Linked DNA regions of Homo sapiens: all the other regions are linked to region 5. The links are contacts of gene promoters, found by promoter capture Hi-C in blood cells and fetal thymus (Javierre and others, 2016). All regions are on one chromosome and are shown on one strand. Each heading gives the region's core, a stretch centred on a gene start or on the middle of the fragment in contact. The rest is flanking DNA. Distances are from core to core; before and after follow the strand shown. Region 1 holds the start of KLF10 (KLF transcription factor 10). Region 2 overlaps POP1 (POP1 ribonuclease P/MRP subunit). Region 3 holds the start of AZIN1 (antizyme inhibitor 1). Region 4 holds the start of POP1 (POP1 ribonuclease P/MRP subunit). Region 5 holds the start of ANKRD46 (ankyrin repeat domain 46).

What was found. The method cuts DNA at HindIII sites, captures the fragments that hold promoters and counts their contacts. A CHiCAGO score of 5 or more calls a contact.
Region 1: a contact is called between the fragment with the promoter of KLF10 here and the fragment with the promoter of ANKRD46 in region 5, in 1 of 17 cell types (non-activated CD4 T cells). The highest score is 5.4, in non-activated CD4 T cells.
Region 2: a fragment that was not itself captured here is called in contact with the fragment with the promoter of ANKRD46 in region 5 in 1 of 17 cell types (total B cells); the score reaches 5.2 in total B cells.
Region 3: a contact is called between the fragment with the promoter of AZIN1 here and the fragment with the promoter of ANKRD46 in region 5, in 1 of 17 cell types (naive CD4 T cells). The highest score is 6.6, in naive CD4 T cells.
Region 4: a contact is called between the fragment with the promoter of POP1 here and the fragment with the promoter of ANKRD46 in region 5, in 2 of 17 cell types (monocytes and non-activated CD4 T cells). The highest score is 5.9, in monocytes.

What each region holds. Positions count from the first base shown.
Region 1 is chr8:102,654,061-102,657,291 of GRCh38, forward strand. It overlaps KLF10 (KLF transcription factor 10), which reads right to left and starts at 1,665. Exons shown (of 4, transcript NM_005655.4): 1 at 1,506-1,665. The coding sequence starts at 1,541. It overlaps LOC101927245 (a long non-coding RNA gene), which reads left to right and starts at 2,188. Exons shown (of 5, transcript NR_160672.1): 1 at 2,188-2,726. RefSeq lists silencers at 1-634, 1,535-2,554, enhancers at 1-401, 1,695-2,295, 2,896-3,231 and a promoter at 1,521-2,255. The HindIII fragment of the contact is 6,240 bases long and covers 1-3,231 here.
Region 2 is chr8:98,158,752-98,162,450 of GRCh38, forward strand. It overlaps POP1 (POP1 ribonuclease P/MRP subunit), which reads left to right. Exons shown (of 16, transcript NM_001145860.2): 16 at 1-1,084. Among named protein-coding and RNA genes, the nearest start is that of NIPAL2-AS1, 16 kb to the right of the region's middle. The HindIII fragment of the contact is 4,067 bases long and covers 1-3,699 here.
Region 3 is chr8:102,862,251-102,865,920 of GRCh38, forward strand. AZIN1 (antizyme inhibitor 1) reads right to left here and starts at 1,913. Exons shown (of 12, transcript NM_148174.4): 1 at 1,557-1,913. MAILR (macrophage interferon regulatory lncRNA) reads left to right here and starts at 2,021. Exons shown (of 3, transcript NR_126339.1): 1 at 2,021-2,373. RefSeq lists enhancers at 57-790, 2,259-2,991 and silencers at 1,140-1,369, 2,030-2,379. The HindIII fragment of the contact is 10,250 bases long and covers 1-3,670 here.
Region 4 is chr8:98,115,481-98,118,751 of GRCh38, forward strand. It overlaps POP1 (POP1 ribonuclease P/MRP subunit), which reads left to right and starts at 1,813. Exons shown (of 16, transcript NM_001145860.2): 1 at 1,813-1,910. It overlaps RIDA (reactive intermediate imine deaminase A), which reads right to left and starts at 1,691. Exons shown (of 6, transcript NM_005836.3): 1 at 1,552-1,691. The coding sequence starts at 1,616. RefSeq lists enhancers at 1,796-1,845, 1,916-2,085. The HindIII fragment of the contact is 6,678 bases long and covers 1-3,271 here.
Region 5 is chr8:100,558,009-100,561,600 of GRCh38, forward strand. It overlaps ANKRD46 (ankyrin repeat domain 46), which reads right to left and starts at 1,751. Exons shown (of 5, transcript NM_001270377.2): 1 at 1,703-1,751. RefSeq lists enhancers at 1,653-1,947, 1,915-2,054 and a silencer at 1,745-1,914. The HindIII fragment of the contact is 4,322 bases long and covers 1-3,431 here.

The sequences.
Region 1 (3,231 bases), core at 415-2,914, 2.1 Mb after region 5:
CCGGATTGGCTGTGCGGCCCGGGGCGGGGGCGTGGGCGAGGAGGGGGCGAGGCATGTGAACAAAGCGTGATCAGCGGCTGCTCCGGGAGGCGCAGGAAACGTGAACTGGGAATTGCCGCGCCGTCACCTTTCCCCTACTTCCTGAGCTTGCGGGCCCCCGCCCGCGCCCGACCCGGGGGAGGGGCCGCGGGCGCCGCCGCCAACCGCCCGGCCGTGCGCGCCGGGCCCGCGGGGAGGGGCGGGGCTGCGGGCGCCAGGCTCCGGGAGGCGCCCGCCCCTTCCAGCTCCCCGCGAGCCGCCGTTCCCTTAGGAACCGACAGCGGGGCCGGGCCTCGCTCCCGCCCCTGGCGGAGGCCGGGGCTGGGTCACTCGGGGACGAGAAGCTCCCCGGGCGCACCCGCTCCCGGCCCACCCCCGGCCTCCGCCTCAGATGCGGGAGGAGGAGCCAGGTCCCCGCGGAAACCCGGCCGCCGCCCTCCTCCCGCCGGCAGCCCCCGGGAACCCGGCCGAGCCCTCGGCACTTCCCGCCCACGCGGCCCACGGGACCTCAGACCACCCCGTCTCTCCCTGTAGACGCGGCGCCCCCTCCCCGTGGCTTCCGGCAGCTCCAGGCCCCTCCCGCCGCGCGTCTCCACGGGTTCCCAGACGTGCAGCCCCCACAGGCCCCGGCTCCAGACGCGCGGCCCCCGCGTCTCGCGGCCCAGCTCCCCCCGCCCACCTTCCCGCCCCAGCTGCTGGGTCCCGCTTCCCACCCTCCTGCCCCAGAGGCGGCTCCCCGCCTCTTCCAAGGAGTCGTCAGAAGGCGGCCACCTGCCCCTGGGGTAAGAGTCCCCCTCCAGACGTCTGGGGGAGCAACTCGTCCCCCAGGGCTGTCGGCGGGCCCTCGTGTCATCCCCCCGCTCCGACGACAGGCGCCCCTTCCCCCAGCCCCGAGCTATCTGCTGAGCAGCCCCCGTCTTCCAAGCGTGGGTTCAGACCCCCAGGATGGGTAGCCCACTCGCCTCTCCTGTGGACACCCCGCCTCCCGAGTGCTTGCGAGCAGCCCCTTCCTCCCCTGGCTCGCGTTCCTGAGCCAGACCGGGCATCTCTCCTCGGTACCAGGTGAGGGTAGCCCCCTTGTCCCTCCCGCGACTCTCGTTCCACACTGTACCCCAACCTCGCTGCAGGGCAACGGCCCCCTCCCCACTCCTCCCCCGCTCGTCATCCTCCTCCTCACCAGCCCTCTCGGGTCTCCATGCGGAGTTGTCCCTTCCCCTCAGTACATCTAGAGCAAGACCCCTGTCCCTGTCTGAAGATCCCAGCCCCCTGGTTCGACCCCCTCCCGAACACACACGCCCTCACTAATGCCCATAGTCTGCAGGCAGGAAGCCCTTTCCTTCCCCACGACTCCGCTGCAGCCCCAATTCTCAGGCATGGCTGATGTCCGGGGCTCGGGGTTCGCGCCCCCTTTGGCCCCCCAGACAAGACCAGGCGAGGAAGCACAGGGGCATCCCCAAATGACTTACCGCAGTCTGCTGGAGAGAGGCACCGAAGTTGAGCATGGTTGGCTGCTTGGCCGCCGGCGGCAAGCTGACTGGCTGCTAGGCTGCTGGCTGCTTGGCCACAGACGGGCGCACGGAGACACTCGACGCCGCTCCCGCCGCCGCCGCGCTCAGCGCCGTCTGCCCCCTCCCCATTCAGGTAGCCGCTCAGCCTGCCCCGCGCCGCGGGCGGGGGTGGGGGCGGAGCCTGAGGCCGGCCAATCAACGGCAAAGGTGTGTGAGGCGCCGGCCAATGGGCTCGCGGGGCCACGCGTGATCGGCGACTGCCCGGCAGCGTGAAGCTGGTGTCAGTGGAGCGTGTACACAATCCCCGGCAGCGTGTTCCCTCTGCCCTGCCCCGGGGAACTCCAGAGGCCACCTGATTGAGTGACGCCCCCCGCCCCTCGCCCACCCCTCGCCCACTCCTTGCCCCTCGTCCCCCGCCCCTGCCTAGAGAGGCGGTGCCGCGGCCGGGGAGGCGCGGCGACTGCAGCGCGCCCAGGCACTGCGGAGGGCCAGCCCCACGTGGGGGGTGGGGAGGGATGCCCGCTCCGCCCCGTCCCCTCCGCGCCGGGCCTCGTCTCAGCCCGCCACGGAGTGGGCGGGACGCCAGGCAGGCGGGGGACGCGGCGGCTGCCAGCCAAGGGGCCGGAGCCAAGAGATTTGCATTGGAAGCGCCATCCTCTTGCGCGTCTGATGAGGAAGCAGAACCCGGTGACCGACTGAGCTGCATTTCTGAAGCATTTGCTGGGTTTTGCCTCACTAAGCCTCGGGGAGCACTGGGGCGCGGGATGGGGGACCCTGTCACGGAGCCGACACCTGCTCGCGCGCCTCTCCCCCGCTCACGCCGTGCCGCGGGCTCGCCCTCCCCATCTGCAGCGCCCGCAGCGCCTGCCCGCCCCGCCCATCCTTCCTCCTGGGCAACCCAGAGGATGGCGTGAGGACTCCTGGAAGCCCAGAGGACCGGACCAGGGGCGTGGTGGGGAGCCGTAGACCCGAGTTTTTATCCTTCTCTGGCGCCGACACTCGGCTGCGGAATCGAGTTTGAGCTCGGTGTAGCTGAAGTTTAAATTGTAGCTGTTTCAAAGGTAGACCCCACCTCACCCCCACCCCTGGACCAAGACCTCTGGAAGCGTCCTGCCTGGAAGCCGCTTGTGGGGAGGGCTCTCCTAGGGTCTCCAGGCTCCCGCTGGAGCACGCCTGGAGGTGGGTTTGCCGGCCGTTCCCTGAAACTGGCACCACTACCGCCCCACCCACCCACTCCAGCTGGTGGGAGGCAGGCTGGGTTTCTGAAAGGAAGCCGCCCGTGTGCTGCGCCTGGGGGCTGGGGCTAGGCCTTCTGATCAGGAAAGCCCATGGCCCTGCTTTGGCACGGATTTGCCCCCGTTTGGCCGTTTGTGCGTGATCACAGCAGCTGTTGTTGGAGAGGAAGGCAGTGATAACGGGGCTTAAAGCAAATCGGAGATCTTATCCGATTTGGACAGGCTGAATTTAAGGCAAAAATCACTGTCTCTCCTTCGAGCACTCACGTCTCTGTAACTGAATGAAAGGCTGGTAATGCAAATAGCATTTCTATCCCAGTAATCACAGAATGAACACAGGAAGGGAATTAATTCTTTTAGAAACTGCCAATGCTATGCGTATCTTCCGATGGTTTTTTTCTAATGTATCTAAGGCCCAGGCTAGCGAACAACAGCAATAATAATGATAG
Region 2 (3,699 bases), core at 533-3,032, 2.4 Mb before region 5:
ATTTCCATGCCGAACAACTCAAGCCTTAAAGAGAGAAATCATGGACAACTGATTTCTGCCTGTTTTCAGGCAGGCACAGTTTATGGCGTCAGTGCTAGGCTGGAATTAGAAAGTGGGGGTCTATGACGTGGACTTCCTGACTCTTTGATCTCTTTGTTGTTGACCAACACTTGATCCTACTAGTTACTTAATTTTTTTAAGTAAAAAATTATTATTATTTTGTTTCTGCAAAGATTTTCTCAAAGCCATAGAGGAGCATTTCTCAGAATATGTTCTATGATATGTGTCACCTAAAAAAGTAAGAGATTCCAAGGTCAGGTTGATATGGAAACTCTAGGTTAAATAAAGTTAAGCATTTCTTTATGAAAGAACTTCTGGAAACTTCCATGTGATAATGTGCATTGCGGATCTCTAGGAAGGAAATGATAGTGTATAGTATTTTCTAAATACTTGTGATTCCTAAAGTTCTCTTACAAGGAGCCCTTTGTAGGACCAGTGTTCTTAGTAGCGCGCTTTGGGCAGTGTGGCTGTGTAGTGCATAGCTACCTCTGCAAGGTGATAACTAAGCCGGCAAGCTGCCTTTCAACACTCATGCAGTCACGTTGTCCACCTGAGATTCTCAACAGGGTATAAAAGGAAGGTCTCATCTTGCCTCACAGGAAGAGTGGGCTCAGTGTGGCTTTTTTCCAACTATGGAGAAACTCAGTGCTCATCTACTTTAAGTTTCCACATATGGCTTGCTCATAGCCTTGGTCCTTACCTTTCCTGCCATAACTTTCTAGAAGAGCTTAATGGGATTTTTTTTCTAAAAAATGTAAATATGCAGTTAGGCATTATTTTATGTAAATGCATTGGGTTTTTACTGTAGCATTTGGCACTAAATGGCTTTGGGGGTGATGAGGTGGGGAAGGATACAGCAGGTGGTACAGTAGTCAGGAAGTACCTGCCACCAATGAGATGTCTGATGCTTTGCCTCTTACCATGCCTCTGAATGTCTTTGGATCCAACCCAGATGAGACTGAAAAAAAAAAAACAGTGTAACTAAGTGGCATCTGTAAACAGAATAAATGAAAATGTCACCTGATGTTCAGTTGTGAATATTTATATTTATTGGACCATTCCTTATTTGTTTTCTGGGCTCTCAGTCACCTCATTTGTGGCTGAGCTCACTCGATGACAGAAGTCTGAGTGTGCTGCGTGGTCACCTAACCTCATTCTGTACAGCCCTGCCTAGGGCCTGCTGCCCCGCCCTCATTATAGGGGACAGGGCACGTTTGCAGCCACTCTGCCTGGTGGGTGGTAGGTCAAAGAGCTGCGCACCAGAAAGATAGATTAGCATTTCCCAAAATGTATTCCTGGGAGTACTAGTCCCTGCAGCTGTTCCTGGAGAAAAGTATTTTATGGCTAAATAAATATGGGAAAAGCTATATATGGTATCCTCCTATTATGATTCACAATGAATACTTGCAGAGTCAAAGCTCTGCAAAGCTCTTTAGGAAAGAAATCTGTCTTTCAGACTCCCACACACGTACCTTTTTTGGTTTTTGCATACCTATTGTCCAGAGAACACTAGTTTCACAGAAGATACGTTGAAAAACTAACAGACTCTGCAGAGGCAGTAAAGAATCCATGTTCCTTATGAAAAAGACTGATAGGGGAATGGCTTACTTTCTGGCAGTTGAATTGATTAGCGTGTTGATCTTGATCCTTCCAAGTGCCTGCCATGCTGTACTAGAGCTACATAGCTACCAAATAAGTGCAATGTGGCCCTTGTCCTCTTGTTGAGGGAGCAATGCTTTTAGGGTTCTTGAAGCATCCTGACCAACATGGTGAAACCCTGTCTCTACCAAAAATACAAAATTAGCCAGGCATGGTGGCGCATGCCTGCCATCCCAGCTGCTTGAGAGGCTGAGGCAGGAGAATTGCTTGAACCCGGGAGGCGGAGGTTGCAATGAGCCGAGATCGCACCATTGCACTCCAGCCTGGGTAACAAGAGCAAAACTCCATTCCAAAAAAAAAAAAAGAAAAGAAAAGGCAGAGTTGTGAGCTGAACACTTACAGACCAGCTATGCACTTGAGTTCTGTAAGAAACAATGGATTCCTTTTGGTGTTTATGCTCTAGTAATATTGTTCATATCAGTCATCCATATTCATCATAAAACAATTAGAAAATGAAGATGAGCAACAATAACAAAATTTAAATCACCTGGATTTTCACCATGCAATATAACTAGTTACCTTCTGTTATGTATCCTAGACGTTAAGATGTATGTGGGTAGTTTTCTTTTAATAACATAAGCCGTTGCTTATATAAAGAGCTATACCATGCAAGTGCAGCAGAGTGCATGTTACCAGTTTTTTTGTTGGTGCTTGACTGGCAAGAGCTTTAAGGATAATACTCCTTTTTTTTTTTTTTTTTTTTAAATGGGAAGTTAGTATGTAACCACCCATCATGTACTAAGTGTAGCATTGCCGTCTTGGCGGCCACATGCCTTGCGTGAGTTCTTTCTTCCCAACCAGTGGGAGGTGAGGGGGGCGGTTGACAAGCTATATGGACTCCCTCATAGTCTTAACTGGCCTACTCGTAGCCAGCCGATCTGAGGCCTGGGGAGCACAGAGATAGGTCCAGGATTGAGCTGTTTAGCAGAGAATACATAGCCTGTAGCAACTGTGGGCCACTCAAGCATCAACCCCAGTTTCACAGCGGTTCTGGTTATTATAGGCCTCCTGAGGACACAGAGGAATACAGGCACTGCCTTTTCTTTGGCAACAGCAGCTTCCAGTCTTGGCACCCTTCCCTTCCCCTCCCCTTCCCCTCTCCTTTCCTTTCCTCCCCTTCCCCTCTCCTCCCCTCCCCTCCCCTCCTCTCCCCTCCTTTCCCCTCCTCTCCCCTCCTCTCCCCTCCTCTCCCCTCCTCTCCCCTCCTCTCCCCTCCTCTCCCCTCCTCTCTTCTTCTCTCCTCTTCTCTCCTACAGTCTTACTCTGTCTGCCCAGTCTGGAGTGCAGTGTCACGATCTTGGCTCACTGCAACCTCTGCCTCCCGGGTTCATGCGATTCTTCTGCCTCAGCCTCCCGAGTAGCTGGGATTACAGGTACACGCCACCATACCCGGCTAACTTTTGTATTTTTTAGTAGAGACGGGGTTTCACTACGTTGGTCAGGCCGGTCTCGAACTCCTGACCTCAAGTGATCTGTCCACCTCGGCCTCCCAAAGTGCTGAGTTTCAAGTGTGAGCCATTGTGCCTGGCCTTTGGCTGCATTTTAGAATCACCCAATAGCCCAAGCTGCAGCCCAGAAATCAATCTTGGGTTGGGCCCAAGGATCAGTATTTATGAGCTCCCCAGGCCGTTGTGATGTGCCGCTCAGTGGAGAATCGCCGCTTTCGGAGGTCTGGCTCTTGGACCCTCTGCACCTTGGGGAAGTGTGACTGAGTAACAAGGCCATGGAAACCCAAGAACTCCTGTGCCTGTAGCAGGCCTGCTTGCCATTACGAAAAAGTACATGTCTGCAAAGTCCGCTCACACGGTCTGTTGACTGCATGGTGAAGCGTCCAGGTGGGAACGTAATGAGAGCGTAGTGTCGAGGGCTGGGTGGCCCAGAGTCAGGGCTTCCACCTGGGGAAGAGGCCTGGTAGTGAAAAAGAAAACAGCCTCATTACTTCTGTAGCCTTCTCTACTTGAGAATATCAAATGAGGTCTC
Region 3 (3,670 bases), core at 663-3,162, 2.3 Mb after region 5:
CGGTACTGAGCTCTATTTAATATGCACATACTAAAGTTGGAGGGGTCTCCAACTTTACTTTGAAATGCATCGACAAATAAGGTAAAATGTTAATTACAGAATCTAGGTGGAAGTATAACTCTTTTTCACCTTCTGTTTGAAAACGTATGTGATAAAACCTTGGGGGAGAAAGGCACTGACTACTCGACCTCACTTATCACCACCGATAATCATTTTCTTTTGGAGTCTTTCCTAAACTCCTTGGGGCTTATTTCTAATCATGATCAGCATCTGCACGCTCTCGTATATGTAAAAGAAATTAATGAATTATGAGGGCCTTTCTAGACAATCATGAGCCATGTTTCTGCCAACCCTTGCTGTATTTGATGTGCTTTGATGTACTTCTACTTTGTGCTTTGATGCACCTCTACATCAACCTTCGCTGAGCACAAGGCAATTCCCCCTCCTTTGAGTCCTTAGATTCCCACCCAGTCTGGGAATTCACGATAGAAACACGACGGGACACAGAACTAATATAACCAAGATGCCACCACAAAATTCAGTTAAATGTGCTGAAACATGAGGCGGTAAACTGTGTCCCCGACTGTTTCGGGTTTCTGAACCAGCAGCTTTGTCTACGAAACACACATTCAGGATACCGTGTAAGGGTTAGAACATGTTACCACCACCAACTGTTGGCAGTCAAGACAGTAGTTGATAAGCCACCCGTCTACCAATCTCCCTCTTTCTGCCTAGGAACCATGGCGCGGACGGAAAAACGAAGCCATGGTGACTAATCCTCAGGCTCCAGGAGGTGACTGGGGTGAGTGAAGGCGACTTGACCCAATCAGGAGCGCCGCAGGGGCGGAGCAGCAGCCTCGAGGCTTCCAGAAGGGGCCAAAAGCCTCTCGCTGGCTACCTGACACCGGGGCTTCCCCGCCGCCAGGCCCCAAGTGGCGTCAACTTTCCTCCACCAGAGGGGGACCGCGCTCCCCGCGCCCCCCAGGAATCCGACTTCCTCCGCAGCTGTCACCAGAGGCCGGCGCGGGGCCCGCCCCGCTCCATTCATAACCAGGACCCCAGCCGTTGCAGCCCACAGCGCCGCCCGCCCGCCGGGCTTCGGGAGGCAAAGGTGGCGGCGGCGCACCGCGGAGTAGGGGCTGCGGGACCCCGGCCCCTCAGGGCTGCGGCCGGGCCCCCTCCCCGGAAACAGCAATGCACCACGGGAGAGGGGTGGGGGCCGCACGCCGCCAGGAGGGGACGGCGACCCCCGGCGGCGAGACCCCCGCGCGCTCCCCCACTGGCACACGCCCCCTCGCCCCAACTGCTGCGGCTCCGGCTCCGCCAAGCGTCCAGCAGCCGCCCGAAGGTCCTGAGGCGCGGCCCGCCGCCCAGCCCCGCCGCCGCCGCCGCCGCCGGGGGCACAGACAGCCGCCGCCGCCATGTTCGAGGCGGCCGGCCGCGGGGCGCTGCGGGGACGTCTTAAGGGCGGCGGGGCCCAGCCGGAGCCCCCCAGCCGCCCCCCAAGGCCAGCCCCGCGTCCTGGCCCCTCCCGCGCTCCTCGGCTCGGTACTCACGTGAGATAACGGCCCAAAGAGTCGGGTAAAGCGTCTTCTCTTTTTCGGCGGAATTTTTAAAGAGGGATGTGGTTACCTTGAGCAGAAATACCCAAGGCGGCCTGGGCCATAGGCTGCGGGAACGACTTGGGGGTAAAAGCGCGGCACCGACACCAGCTGTGTGCAGCAGTGGCGGCGGCGGCCGAAGGAGAAATAGAACAGCGCAGGCAAAAGAAGAAAGGCGCGGGCTGGGTGGGAAGAGGATTCGGACTCGTCACACTGCAGAGCAGCAGAGCGAGAAAGGATGAGAAGAGGCAGAGAAGGCGACGGCAGAAGAAAAAAGGAAAAACTGCGGCCGCGATCAGAGCCTGAAAGTGTGAGAAGGCGGCGCCAGCGACGCCAGTATTTATATTAGGGGGCGTGGCCTGGTGACATCACAGCTGGCCGGGCAGCCGCGCGAGCGGGGCGGAACCCGGTTGCAGCCCGGAGAAAAGGGAGGGGGACGGAAGAGGAAGGAGGACTGAGCCCGGGAGAGAGAGGGGAGGGGTCGGCGCGCGACCGGGTCATGCAGGTGCAGACTGGCCGGTCGCTTCCCGCCCTCCAGCCACCCGCAGCTCCCCGGCAGGCGAAGGGCGGCCGCGCGGGTGTGGGCCGAGAGAGGGAGGCGGCTCGGCTGGAGCGCGCCGTCCGCCCGACCCCCGCCGCCTCTCGGGCGCCTGCGCTCACGCTGCGGGGCCCAGCGCATTGTGAGCCGGGTCGAGCTCCACGCTGGCAGCGTCTGAGAGCTGTCCTGGGCCGGAGGTGGCGCGAACCCTGTGCGGCCTAGAGTGGGCCTGGGGTAAGCCTGTCGGCGCCGCTGCCGAGCCTTCGCGTCCAGCTCCCTCCGCTTTGTGAGGCCTGTAGTTTACCCTGGGGAGTGTCCTCCCGGGCTGAGGCGCCCGCCCTCGGTGATGCGGTACTCCTTTAGGGAAGCGAGTTCCTCGTGGCCAGAAAGGACCGGCCCAGTGTCCGGGTGTTAAAAAGGGTTGTGACCACGTGAAAATGTCCTCAGTGCTCGAACGTTGCAATACGGTGCAGTGGAAATTTTTTAAAGGAATATGGCTTTTATGTCTTCATTTTTAAAAGGATTGGTGGAGTCAGTCCCAAGCAGGACCCGCGTTGGAGAGGGGATTACTGATGTTACAAGCGCACATTACTTCAATCCCCTAGGTCTCATTTTCGCGGTCGTTTTAATTTTTCTACTCCACAACAGACTTTTTTTTACTAGGGGTTCTAAGATTACCTACATAGCTTTTAATTTATTTTCATCTTTTTTAGATGCCTCAGCACTAATGATCATGATCAGAGACCCCGAGTTCTCTCGTGCTGCTACGCTTCGCAACACATAGCACAAATGGAATATGTGTTGACACACCCCTCTGAAGTTAAGATCTTTGATATTAAGACCCTGACTTTTTTCCCTTTCATTCTTCCGAACCCTCTGTGTACTTTGAGCAGCACTGTGGTTGATTAATAAATCATCAAATGTGAAAGGAAGAAAGCGACCTTCCTGTGTGGAAAAGCAGGGTATCTTGCGAGGCTGTATGAGAGAGTATTCGGTAGAATCAGGAGCTGTGGACGCATTCCTGATTTTGTTTTTCCTTATTTTGCTCGGCTATATCTTGGCTCTGTCTTTTATTTCTTCAAAGTTCTGTTCTATTCAGAACATTTGAAAACACAGCCATTCACTAGACCCTCTCTGGTGGAGGAAGAAAAACTAGAGATGAATACAATATTTGAAACCTTGCTTACAATCTAGCAGGGGAAATAAGACAGCAATACAAAATAAATTGTTGGCTGATACAAATAAAATGCTGCAAGGACCAAGTGGAGGGAAGAGATGATTGCAGCTAAGTGAGAGAAAGGCTGCTGGGGAAAGGTAAAGAGTGATTTTGAGAAAAGCCTTTCTAGACAAAGGTGCTTCCTTTTTCACCAAACTCGCCTGTTTGGTGATTTTGAGAGTAGATGTTCCAGTGTTCCAGGCAAGGGAAACGGATGAGAGAAGGCACAGAAGTGGGTGGGTTTAGAGAATTGTGAATAGCCTTTCTGGTTCCAGCATAGGGGCATGGTTGCAAATGAGATTGAAACGGTAGATT
Region 4 (3,271 bases), core at 563-3,062, 2.4 Mb before region 5:
TGATTACATTAAGGAGAAAAAAAATCATCTTTAGAAAACAAATTAAAACATCACTTGAAAGTTTTTAATTAAACTTTTTTTTTTTTTTAAATAGAGATGGGGGTCTCACTATGTTGCCCAGGCTGGTCTTGAACTCCTGACCTCAAGCAATCCTCTTACCTCGGCCTCCCACAGTGCTGGGATTACAGGCGTGAACCACAGTACCCGGCTAAAGAAACATCACTCTTAACAAAGAGAGAGCAGGCCTCAGGTTTTGAGCCAACTGCAATATCTAGCTAAAATTTAATAATACCTTTTTTTAATTGAGTTTATTTTTTACTATTACTTTCTATTGAATTGTTTTCTATTTAGTGTACTGTTGTAAAGTTTCCTTTTTCAATTAACTTGTTAAATAAAATGAAGTGAGCCATCTCAAAGAAATAGGTTAAGTAAATTATAAGTGATATACAGATTTGGCAAACAAACAAACAAAAAAGACAGAAGTAGCACTTGAATTATGAAAACTTTCTCCCCAAAATCTTTATACCATGCATTCTTCTACCTCCATGCCCTCACTCAAGCCATTCCCTCTACCTGACTTCTACCTCCATGCCCTTCACTCAATGACTTCCTGTTGAAATCCTTAATAAATTAATTTAAAAATCAAACTTTACAACACTACTATAAATGACAAAACCAACCTTCAAAACCAAAGGACTACCTCTCACAAGGAACCTTCCTAAATCTTCTTTTTCCTCTTCCACCCCAAGTTAAAATCAATTTGTCTTTTTTCTCCTTTACTCCCTACCCCACTTGCCCTCTCACTTCTACTGCATTTTATTTATTTCCAAGTTTTCTATAATAATTCCTGTTCTGCCACATCTCAGTGCCTTTTCTCACAGCAGTAGGTTTAAAGGAGGGAGCTGTTGATGGGGCTCTTTTCAGTTGGGAGAGAGGCAGACCAAGTATGAAGCTAATGAAAGAAGTTGGTCATAAAGGACTGCATGTTTTATGATTCAATTTATAGGAAATGTCCACAACAAGCAAATCCATGAAGATGCAAGTAGATTGTCAGGGGCCGGGGGAGAGGAGAATGGGGAGTGAATGCTAATGGGGATGGGATTTATTTTTGGGGTGATGAAAATGTTCTGAAGAAAGTGGTGATGGCTGCACAACTCTGTGAGTATGGTCAAAACCACTGAATTGTACATGTTAAAGGGGGTGAATCTTACGGTACGTGAATTATATCTCAATAAAGCTGTTACCAAGAAAACAAAAACGACCCCCTCCCCCAAAACAAAACACAGGGTCTGAAGGCTTCTAACTGGGGAGAGCTTTCTGGCAGGCTGTGCTCCGCAGCGAGGCAGCCCCAGAACGAGCAAAGTCCCATGGAGTGCAGGTTCCTGGTCCCATCGTGGCTCCCAACTCTCTGTGGGTCTTCGGGCGCGTTGCTTACTTTCCAGGCTCAATTTCCTTGCGTGTTAGCTGGGGCTCCGGCCCGGAGTGGCCCCAACCCCGAATCCCCGAACCCGCACGCCCTGGGTCCGACACAGCTTCCACCAGCCACGTTACCTGTAGGGTCCAATGGCCCCTGGGGCTTTCGCGGTGCTGATCACCCTTCTGATCAAGGACGACATGGCTAAGCCTTCCCTCTTGCAGCCCCTTCAGGAGAAGAAGCCCCAGCACCAGCCCTGCTGGCTTCTTACTGGACTGACCAACCACAGCAGCGCCTCTGCCCCACAGCTCCCGCTGGGGGCGGGCTCGTGCGGCATTCTGGGAACTGTAGTTTCGGCGACGCTCCAGGCCACGTGGAGGAAGCGCCCGGTCTGGCGCATGCGCTCTCCAGCGCGCTCTCCAGGAGCTTTGGCTCGGTGGGTACTGTCGCGGAGGCTTGTCATTCTGACCCGGGGATTCCTCACAGCGTCTGGCAGGTTGGTCGTGAGGGGCTGGTGCCTTCCAGGATGCGAGTGTCGGGGGAACTGTATGCGGCGGCCCCCCTCCCGGCGCCCGTCTCCCCTCTTCATCGTTTCTCTCTCAGACTCCGCTGACCTCTTTCCTTGCTGCCTGTGCCCGGGGCCCCTCTCCCTGGTGTCGCATCTCCTTCGGCCCCTGCGCTGGAGCCCCCTACGTCAGTCATTTCCCTTCATTGCCCCGCCGGGTGGAGGCCGTCCTGGGAATGGGCTTGCATCCCCTCTTCTGCAACCCCAAATGACTAATATGGGTCATTCTGGCGACCACGCTGAGATCTGGGCGTTGGTCCTCCCGTGTTCCCTTTCCTGCTCCTCCTGTGTTCCCTTCTCTAGGGTGCTCCTCGGGCTTTACAAGGTCACTGTCTGAACAGAGCCCTAGTGATTGGGATATCATTTCAGAAAGAAAGATGGTGATCTGGAATGGCCCAGATCCCTTGTAAGTATTCTGCTGTGTCAGAAGGGGTGGTACTTGGCTAAATATTTCTTATCCTGTTAATATTTGCATTGTAAGTACGCTTCGTTTCTTCATTTATGCGGGCACTCATAGATATATGAGTCCCTACTTTGTGTAAGGCACTCTGCTAGATGCTAGGAGGAATGCAACAGTTAAAAAAAATAATAATAAAATCTCTGCCTTCCCTGCTTCCTAAAGATAATACAAGAAAATCTGCTTTATTCCCTCTCATTTTGTCCTACATACTGCTAAGGTTTTGGCCTTCCTACTTCCGGCTCAGGAACCTTCTGATCTTTTTCATTGGTTTGGGGCCTGGAATAAAAGACCTTTCAGTCTGGCCTCCCCTTGCCTATTCAAGTTTCATTGTCATCTACTCCCTTTTCCCACTAGAGTCCTCCTGTATTCACACTGTGGATTCCTGAATACTCTTTCTTCCTTATCTGTGCAAATTCCAGCTAACTGAAATTCTATTTTCTCTTTGACTTTTCCTACCAATTCACATTTTTTTCTTTTTCTTCTTTCCTTCCTTTCCTTTTCTTTTTCTTTGTTTTCTTTCTTTCAAGACAGGATCTCACTCTGTCACCCTGGCTGGAGTACAGTGGCATGATCTTGGCTCACTGAAACCTTGACCTCCTGGGCTGAAGCAATCCTCCAGCCTGAGCATCTCAAGTAGTTGGGATTACAAGTGCACACCAGCACGCCCGGCTAATTTTTGTATTTTCTGTGGAGACGGGGCTTCTTCATATTGGCCAGGCTGGTCTCCAACTCTTGGGCTCAAGCAATTCTCCCACCTCAGCCTCCCAAAGTGCAGGGATTACAGGTGTAACCATTATGCCCGGCCTCATTTTTTTTCTTTCCCTTGTCCTGT
Region 5 (3,592 bases), core at 501-3,000:
AGGACTTCATTTTGTTCACTCTCACATCCCCCAGTGCTTAGAACAGAGCCTGGCCATAGAAGGCACTCAATATACGCTTGCTATATGAATGCCGAATATGCAAATTCTTAAATCTATAATAGGTAAGGCTAAGAAGTTTGGGACTATAAAGCCCAACTTATTTCCACAATGGGAAATACAATTTCCCTTTTGATAAAGAACTGTGAGAATCCTTTGTTTTCCATAGTAACACAATTTATATAACATGCCAAAAATTCCTTATCACTTCACATCCTCTCTCCAGTGCCTTTCCTGTATTCTGTAAAATATTAACTTACTATCATCAAAAAATCTTTGATTTCCCTCTGGTACTGCTACCATAATAATGCAAAGGCAAAGTGAACTCACTAAAAAATGGTATGGAAACATAAATAATGAAGAAATGTAATAAAGTGTGTTAACAACCAAACAAATTCATCTCTATTTCAAATCAAATTGTACTGGCACAGTGAGAACCCCAGTCCAAGTTTAACTTTATTATCACTATAGTCCTTAATGAGCTAACAGTTTTCTTACTAAACTCCTTTTAAACTAAAAAGGAGTTCATGTAGGACTCCTGCATATAACCATGAAAACTAAGCCTGAGAGAAATCAGTTCAGGCTACAAATCTAATTGATAAAACTCTTAGACAGCGCTACATGTTTGGCTAGATAACAGACGCAGGGATACTGAAGTAAGGGAGATGAGACCAAATCTCGCTCAGCCTTTGCTAGCTTTCTGACCTTGGAGAAGTCAGACTCTCGGTGCCTCAGTTTCCTTATCTGTATAATGGAAATGGTACCTGATAGGGTTGCTTCAAGGATTAAAGGTACCAGGTATTTAAAGCAATGGCACCGTGTCTGACATAAAATAAGCACTGAAAATAGCTATTACTAGAACATAAAAATAATCCCCACACCACTCATATTACAGCTCTTTAAGAGGCTCCTAGGTACCACCGTCATTTTTTAAAGATTGAGAAGCGCTACTATTCAATGGCATATTTTTACCTTATTATGTTCTGTAGCCAATTCCGAATACCGTGGAACGTTACAAAAAACAGATGTTATTTTCTTGAGGTACTGTTGGGAAAACCTCAGAGAGAACGATCTGCTTTTTAGCACTGCAAGCCAATTAAGGGAGGAAGTTTGCGATTACCCGAGCCCTAAGTGGAAGGTGTGCAAATCCTTCCTTTTAACCCGGGCACCCCGGAGCCATGTGCCATTCTGGAGAGCTCACTCACACCCCAACAGCTTGTCCCGGCGCCTGAACTGTGCGCTCCTGCAAGCACACGCCGCGAAAGCACCGTCTCGCCCCGGCCGAGCAGCTGGACCTGCGGCGTGGCTTCCGCGCTCCACCCCCCGATTAACCGCGAGCCAGGGCTGCCCGCGCTGCCCAGGGGTTCCCCGGACCACAGCCCTAACCCGCAAGCGCAAACGAGAACCCTCGCAGGCCTCTGCCCGGCCCTCGTGAACACACAGACCGCGAAGAAGCCATCACGGACCCGCGGTCGCTTCCTCGGCCCGGCTCCCTCCAGTCGCCGCGGAAGGTGTGGGAAGCCCGGGCACCCTCGCCCCTCAGGGCCCCGGCCAGGCCTACTGGACCTCCAGTGCTACAGGGACGGTGCAGGAGATATCAAGTGGCTCTAGCCCAGGCGCTGCCCACAGGCCCCGGGCCAAGTACCTGCGACTCGAACGAGCAGCAGCGACAGCGGCAGCTTCAAGGAGGCGGTGACGGGCGGAGGGGAGGGGCCAGACAGGGGTAGTCGGAGTCCCCGCTGGGCCAGAGCGGTCTCGCGCTGCAGCCCCCGGCGCGCCCCCTGCAGGTGGGCGGTCCTCACGGTGGCTCGGGCTGCTCTGAGTCAGAGACTCCGGGAAAGCCTGCTCTGAATTAGGGAAAGCATCAAAACTGTGGCTTCAGAAGAGAAAGACAGCCTAGAAGAGGTTTATCCGATCTGAGTCCGGGAGCATTTTGCACTTTTCACGTCCTATTCTAAATTCACATCCCATCCCCTTAGCTAAATGGGGGCTTCAAAGGCAAGGGCAGTTTCATTAGGTGCTATAAGCATCAATTAATAGTTGCTGGCCTCTAGGTAGGTCTTCTATAGACCCGAAATTGACATATTAGGAATAGCCACTAATGATTGGCTGCACTATTTCTAAAATATAACCCTGCATTTTTACTTTTTTCAAAAGCAGTTTGAATCTTTTTTTTTTTTTTTTTTTTTAGACGGAGTCTCACTCTGTCGCCCAGGCTGGAGTGCAGTTGCTCAACCTCGGCTCACTGCAAACTCCAACTCCGCCTTCCGGGTTCAAGCGATTCGCAGTTTGAATCCTTCCATCCTACTTTGTAGGGTTCCTTGACTTATTGCAACATGTACAGCCAAGACTAACTAAAAGTGTGGTGGGACATTCATATGCTGGAAACATTCTTTCATGCAAAACTAGTTTTTTCTTTTTTTCATTTTACCAACTCCAGTCCTACAGCCAAGACAACTCTCACTGCACAGTGACCGTCCTCTGAATTCTAGCACCCTCATCCAACCAAGCCACGCTCTATGGCAAACTTGTCCAACCCCTGGCCCACACCTGCAGGCTGCATGCAGCCAAGACAGTTTAGAATGCAGCCCAACACAAATTAATAAACTCTCTTAAAACATTATGAGTTTTTTTTTTTTTGCAATTTTTTTTTAGCTCATCAACAATTGCTGGTGTTAGTGTATTTTATGTGTGGCCCAAGACAATTCTTCTTCCAATGTGGCCCAGGGAAGCCAAAAGATTGGACACCCCTGCTCTAGGGTATCTCATGGTTCATTCATTCAAGGACCACCTACACCATCTAATAATTTGTTCTTGAAAGTGTCATGTAAAGGTTTAGGACTATTGTCATATTAGAGGAAATCACTATTACATTTCTTTCATGTAAGAATTATAAGATCTGGCCATGCACGGTGGCTCACACCTGTAATCCCAGCACTTTGGGATGCTGGGGTGGACAGATCACTTGAGGTCAGGAGTTCGAGACCAGCCGGACCAACATGGTGAAACCTTGGCTCTACAAAAATACAAAAATTAGCCAGGCACGGTGTTGCACACCTGTAATCCCAGCTACTCAGGAGGCTGAGGCACAAGAATCCTTGAACCCCAAAAGGCGGAGGTCACAATGAGCCGAGATCTCACCACTGCACTCCAGCCTGGGTGACAGAACAAGACTCCATCTCAAAAAAAAAAAAGTTATAAGATCTTAGGGCATTTCACATTTTATTGTGCTATGACTAATCAGCAATATTACTTGTTAAATTGATGACATTTATTAATCAGTTTGTTATTGATGTCCTCCTTCTGGTTGTGTATTGAGTTTATAATATCTTCACTGATGCCTATAAACTATGACAAATTAGCAAGGAAATTAAAGCTTTTCCCAATGTATTAATAAGATTTACTCTTCATTAGTTGACTCATCCAACAATCTGAGAGCCTCTCCATTACTTCTATTCAAATTTATCTCTTCCTCTTCATGAATTACTGCTTTTGATTGATATGAAAAAATGTAGGGATGGTGAAGACAGCTTTT